Regions from separate parts of the Homo sapiens genome. Here region 1 is linked to region 2. Evidence: promoter capture Hi-C in human tissues and cell types (Jung and others, 2019). All regions are on one chromosome and are shown on one strand. The core of a region is centred on a gene start or on the middle of the fragment in contact, and the rest is flanking DNA. Distances in the headings are between cores, read along the strand shown. Region 1 has its middle 150 kb from the start of THBS1. Region 2 holds the start of FSIP1 (fibrous sheath interacting protein 1).

Region 1 (3,298 bases), core at 83-2,582, 350 kb after region 2:
ACAATGATCCTTGTAAGGTAAGTCACACAACTGTTTATTTTACAGAAAGGAATCTGAGGCTCAAAGAAATTAAGTCTCTGGCTCAAGATCATAACTAGTAAGTGGCAGAACCGGGATTTGACAGGTGTTTTGATTTTAGGTCCAATGATCTCTTTGTTACACTCACTTCCTCACCTGTGGGCTGTGAGGGACTTTGTTGCTTAAATAAGCTAGGGCTCCAAGAACCCAAGCTTCTAGGATAAATAATAACCCAACCAATGCAGGGTGTCCACTATGATTCACCGTGGCGTCCTTACGTATTTTGGAAGACAGCAGTATTTGAAGGATAAGATTTTTTTTTTTCCTCTAGGATCCTCTAGGAAGGCAACTCAGGTCCTATAAAGAAGCTGCTGATTTTCACCCAGTGGCTGGGAATTTGATGGGTCCCCCTAAGATCTGCAAAGGGATGAAACTGGAACTTATTCTCCAGTTCTATGTCTAGGGTGGGTGGAGATCGATATTTTGGGAGAAAAATGGGAGCATAATGTAGAGGAGAGCCCCTGAAGGTTTGGGTTCCTTGTGCTGAGACCTAACATCCTACAACATCTCCTTTGCAACTGGGAGTGCTTTGGAATGTTTAAAAACACGTGCTTGAGTTGAGCAGTGGAGGCTCAGAGGACACTCTTGCATGAGGTGGAAAGGCTCAAAGTCCTGGCCTTCCTTCTCCTTGTCTCTTGACCTTGCTTCAGGGGGAGAGATGGTGAAGTGGAATGATAATGGATCTTGGGCATCAGACCCAGGTTCAAATTTGTGTTCTACTATTTTTAGGCTGTGTAGTCTGGACTTCAGTTTTCCTATTTGTCAAGTGAAGCTTAATAGTACCTCCTAAGAGGATTTCCCTGGGGATTGCATGAGCGAATAAGGGTTCCACATACTCTATGTCAGAGCCAGTGCTCAAACGTTGGTCCTCACATCCTGCACAGAGGACCTCTTCATATGTGATTATTTGTTTTATTTTACTGTCATTTATTATTTGTTTATCGTGTGCTCCCCCATTAGAATGTAAGCCCTAGAAGGAGTTATATAATATTGTTTGTTGAATAAATGATATTACTTTGAATACATAATACTCTAAGAAGTTCCAGGCACTGTAACAGTTCCAGCAACAGTTCCAGGCACTGTTCCAGTGCCCAGAACATGGTAGATTTGAATAAATAATATTACTGCAATACATGCATATGTCAATGTTAAAGTGGAGAGATAGAAGCACTCAGGAAGCATAAAGAAAATTCAGCCTCTTAAAATCTGGGACACCTTGAAACCATGAGTGGCTCAGAAAGAGCCAGCAGTCTCTGGCTATTGCTGGCTTTGCTGGGCTGCCCCCCTAGAGGCGTGAGGTTAGGATATTGTGTAACGACAAATGACACAGAGGGGACTGTCTGTTCTGGCTTCTTATCTAGAAGCCCTGCACCTCTATAACCCCAGGGCTGTTCTTGGAGCTGTGGCTCAGAGAGTCAGGCTGACAGCACAAGGACAGGGAAAAAGGTCCTATTCTGACATTCAGAGGATCTGTCTTTTCTCTCCTGGGTCTCCAGGACCCTATCCTTCTGAGCTAGATGCACCTACGTTTTGAAAATGAAGATGGGTAGCTGTGCTGAAGCTCTTGTCAGCATGCAATTGAGATACTCTTTGGCCAAAGCAGAAATTGGTTGGAATTCTGGCATCCTTGGCTTAGAAAAGAGCCTGAGCAGGTAGATTTTTCTGCTTGTGTTAGCTTATGAGAAAGCCCAGAGTCTCTGCATGAGCTTCTAAAATGCCTAATACTTCTTACACAATTCAAGTTGGACGGCAAGTGTCAGTGATGCAGCACCTTCAGACAGCATTTCCCAGAAAGTATGCTACAGATACCATGTCTTTGTCAAAGGCGGCGGCACGTGTGCAGCTGTGATGACAAATGCAGCGGGTGTTGCTAGTTGCGGAAACACAGCTAGGGGTTTGGTTAACCACAGGAAAGCTGGGGTGAGGGGCAGTCCCTCCGTTCTTGTATTCTCTCCCTAGATGATTCAGGGTGGTCCCTAGTTCAGCCTCAGACACGAGACCCAGATCACTGCAGGCTGTCTGTTGCCAAGCGACGGGAACCATTTGGCACCAGCCGTAGAGAGCAACCAGAATGGGCAGAGCAGAGACTTAGAGCCCAGAGGACTGGAAGACGCTGCCACAGCCGCACGCACTCTAGCCTGATGCTACAGGTCTGTCACTGATGATACTAAAAGTTACGCGGTTGACAGATGCTATTTACAGCCAGAACTGAACAAACTCAAACACAATTCTATGTCGAACAGTCAGGGAAAATAAAGTTAAAACACCAGCAATTCCCATGCCATATCATTTATACATATCTTTGTGTTTGGAATTCACTTCTGAAATTCACTTCCTCTTGTGGGCTGGCTGGTGTAAGACATAAAAGTGAGCTCTGGGTCACTTTGGTCTTTTTTGATTCAATTTGAGCACCTTCCACCCCATGATTGTCCTAGGCATTGGAGAGAAGGTCTGTGCCCCTCTATCAGATGGTGAGTTCCCTGAGGACAAGAGCCTTATGAATTCATTGGCGATGTCTCCCCAGTCCATCCCATCCCACACACACAGTGCCTAGTGCACCACTTTGGGCATTTTGGCACTTGGTAAATATTTGCTGAACGGAAGAAAGAAACTCTTTTTTTCACTTCTCTTCTGCTGTCACTGCTAGGCATTACATGTCTTTTTTTTTTTTTTTTAAATTTAAGTTTTAGGGTTCATGTGCACATTGTGCAGGTTAGTTACATATGTATACATGTGCCATGCCGGTGCGCTGCACCCACCAACTCGTCATCTAGCATTAGGTATATCTCCCAATGCTATCCCTCCCCCCTCCCACCACCCCACCACAGTCCCCAGAGTGTGATATTCCCCTTCCTGTGTCCATGTGATCTCATTGTTCAATTCCCACCTATGAGTGAGAATATGCGGTGTTTGGTTTTTTGTTCTTGCGATAGTTTACTGAGAATGATGATTTCCAATTTCATCCATGTCCCTACAAAGGACATGAACTCATCATTTTTTATGGCTGCATAGTATTCCATGGTGTATATGTGCCACATTTTCTTAATCCAGTCTATCATTGTTGGACATTTGGGTTGGTTCCAAGTCTTTGCTATTGTGAATAATGCCGCAATAAACATATGTGTGCATGTGTCTTTATAGCAGCATGACTTATAGTCATTTGGGTATATACCCAGTAATGGGATGGCTGGGTCAAATGGTATTTCTAGTTCAAGATCCC
Region 2 (3,013 bases), core at 370-2,869:
TTACTTTGAATCCAAAACCCGTTACTTTTTTGAACACTGCTCATAGAATTTGTATAAAGTATACAATGAGTATCAACCTATTTATATTTTATTTGCAAGAATGACTCACTGCCAGCGGCACACAGGGCCAGGAACATAGGCTTTCATGGCACCAACTACAAACAAGACTGACTGATGAGATTGTGGCCATGTCTCTCCCAAGTGCTCCTGACCTGGTTCCTGAAAATGTTCACCTCAACCTCGAACTCAGCATTTCCTGTGCTGGTTTTCAACTTGACATTGGTGAATTTCTTCAGTAACATCTCTAGGTCGGCTGCTAAGTTTTAATTCTCATAGGAGGATTAGGATACTTTCTCCCATTTTCTTCAGTTTGCAACTTTTTTTCTTTTGAGATTTGGAAAGCCACATAAATTCCCTGAGAAATGCTGGGAAGAAATCCCTGCACAGAAACACTAACAATGAGGACAGTGAGGCTGGAACCAGGTTTACCAGGGGAAAGCAGTAGGTAGGAGTGGAGGTCAGAGAGCCAACAGAAAGCCTTATCATTTAGAGATGATGTCAGTATGAACCTGAATGGAAGCACTGAAGTTGTGACGAATGTTTGGATTCTGAATATATTTTGAATGTTGAGCTGATAGGACAAATAGATTGTAGAGTGAGAGAGGAAGAAGAATTGAGGATGACTCCAAGGTTTTTGGTCTAGGCATGGCAGGCTGAAATTACCATTTGCTGAGATGGATAGAAAGTGGGTGGGGGACTCTGGAGAAGTTGTTTTTTCCCGTGTTAAGTTTGAGATGCTTACACATCTAAGTGGATATGCCAAATAGGCAGTTAGGTAAAGGAGTCTGGAGTTCAGGGAAGTCTGGGCTGGTGATAAGATGCAGGATTCAGGAGCATAGGGATGGCATTTATAGCCAGGTTTTTATACCCAGCACTCGCCTAGACTGCAGCTGTGTTCTTTCGGCAACTCAGCCTACGACTATTTGCTTCGCTGAAAAAAAACCACATCGTACCTAGTTAAAACAATGAGGACAAAGGGGCCATGAATGTGAAAATGCCCTGTAAACGGTAATGTGCTGTTCAGACTGGAAAGCAGGAGAAATGATGGCAATGGAGGTGAGGAAAATCAGTTTGTGGACGTAGGGAAATAATTTTCGTGCACTGAGAATTAGAGAAACTACGAAATGAAAGAAGGTGCAAAAAGCAATTATAACTCTTTTTGGACTGTAGCCGAATCTGTGCAAAACTCATATTTTTAAAATTTCCATAGCACCCCAAATTTACTAGAGCTTCACATACATGGTCTTTTTGAGCTGCACAAGTCTTGTAAGAAGGGAATTATTATTGTTCCCATTTTACGGAGGAGGAAACTGTGCTCGGAGAGGATAACTGACCTGTAAGGCATCACAGCAATATGAGGGACAGAGATACACAAGCATCCAGACGTCCGCGTTCCGAATCCAACCTAAAGACGAAAAATCGCTCCCAACCCCCACCGTCGGCAGCGAAGACGGAAGGACACACGCCGGCCGTCCCAGCTCGCAGGGCTCCAACAGCCGCCGGCCCCGGTCCCATTTCCGGATGGTACAGCCCTTTCCGCTATCGCGAGACCGGAAGCATCGCGCATCTGGTTGCCAGGGAAACAGCGGTCCCACAGGCAGGAGGGATCTGGACCGGCGGCTTCTTCCACTACCAGAGAGGCTGAGGTGGCGGGAGAGACCCCTCTCCTCTGGGGGTAAGTGGCTGGCGCGGCGAGTGTCTGCGGCGCGCTTCTGCGGCCATCTGCGCCCTGACTGACGGCGGCCAGTTCCTCGAGGAGGCCCGGCGGGAAGGTGAGGGGCCGCGCAGATGAGGGCGGAGCTCGGTCGCGGGGCGGTGCGCCGAGGAGTGGGCGGGGCGGAGCTGCGTCGGGCCGCTTGGCATGTAGATGGACTGTCAGGGAGAGCGGACAGGGCCAATGAGAGGGCGGGGGCGGGCTCATTGGGGGCGGGGCCCCAGCGGCTTCTGCCTCCGCGGAGGCTATTTCTCCAGGAATCACCTAACATTAGGACCTGTAACCAAGGCTTCTACTTTCCCGAGATTTGGATCTTCCCACCAAGATCTAGAACTGATCACCAGCCATTTAAACTAGACCGTAAACGGCAAAGGATGCAAATAGGCATTTCACAGGAAAAATAAAAAGATGCAAACAGCAAACAATTGATTAGAGACTCAACTTTTCTCGTGAAGAAATGTAAACCAAATTCACAGATACCTTTTACACCTATGAGACTGGAGAAGATGAAACAGCTTTGACATAACCAGATGGGCCCCAGCCCAGTGTAGGGGAAGTAGTGTAATTTGGTGCAGCCTTTTTGGAGTACAATTTGGCGAACTACCAAAATTTGAAACATAAGTGTTCTTTGACTCAGCAATTCTAATATATTTTATGGATGTATGAGCATAACTAAAGAAAGATTGGCACAAATATATTAACTTAAAATTGAGGTATAACTTACTTATGGTAAGCCTCACCCATTTAATCTACAGTTCTGTGAGTTTTGACAAATGTATACAGTTATGTAATTACCAACCACCACAATCAGCATACGGAAGTTTCATCATGAACCCCAAATTCCCTAGTGCTCTTTGTATTTAATCCCTCCCCTAACGCCATCCCTGGCAACAACTTCCTAGTTTTTTGTTCCTGTAATTTTGCCTATTCCAGAATGTCATATTGATGGAAGCAAACACCCTGTGGCCTTTTGAATCAGGCTTCTTTCAGCTTAGCATCATGCAGTTGCTATTCATTCATGTTCTGTGTATCAGTTGTTCCTTTATGTTGCTGAGTAATAGTCCATTGTATGGATCTACGGTAGTATATTTATCCATTTCCTACTTGAGGCATATTTGGATGAGTTCTTTCCAGTTGTTGGCTATTATTGATGAAGCTGGTATAAATATTCATGTACAGGTTTTTTTTTGTGTGTGTGAATATGTTTTCATTTCTTGGGTAAATATGAATGAGATTGTG

Evidence for each region. The method cuts DNA at HindIII sites, captures the fragments that hold promoters and counts their contacts. A contact is called where the count stands out against the background at its distance.
Region 1: a contact is called between a fragment that was not itself captured here and the fragment with the promoter of FSIP1 in region 2, in 1 of the 25 tissues and cell types used here (lymphoblastoid cells).

The regions. Positions count from the first base shown.
Region 1 is chr15:39,426,028-39,429,325 of GRCh38, reverse strand. No RefSeq gene overlaps it. Among named protein-coding and RNA genes, the nearest start is that of THBS1, 150 kb to the left of the region's middle. The HindIII fragment of the contact is 3,298 bases long and covers 1-2,981 here.
Region 2 is chr15:39,781,447-39,784,459 of GRCh38, reverse strand. FSIP1 (fibrous sheath interacting protein 1) reads left to right here and starts at 1,619. Exons shown (of 12, transcript NM_152597.5): 1 at 1,619-1,832. It overlaps LOC105370941 (a long non-coding RNA gene), which reads right to left and starts at 1,554. Exons shown (of 1, transcript NR_135665.1): 1 at 1-1,554. RefSeq lists an enhancer at 1,380-1,509 and a silencer at 1,810-1,989. The HindIII fragment of the contact is 15,521 bases long and covers 1-3,013 here.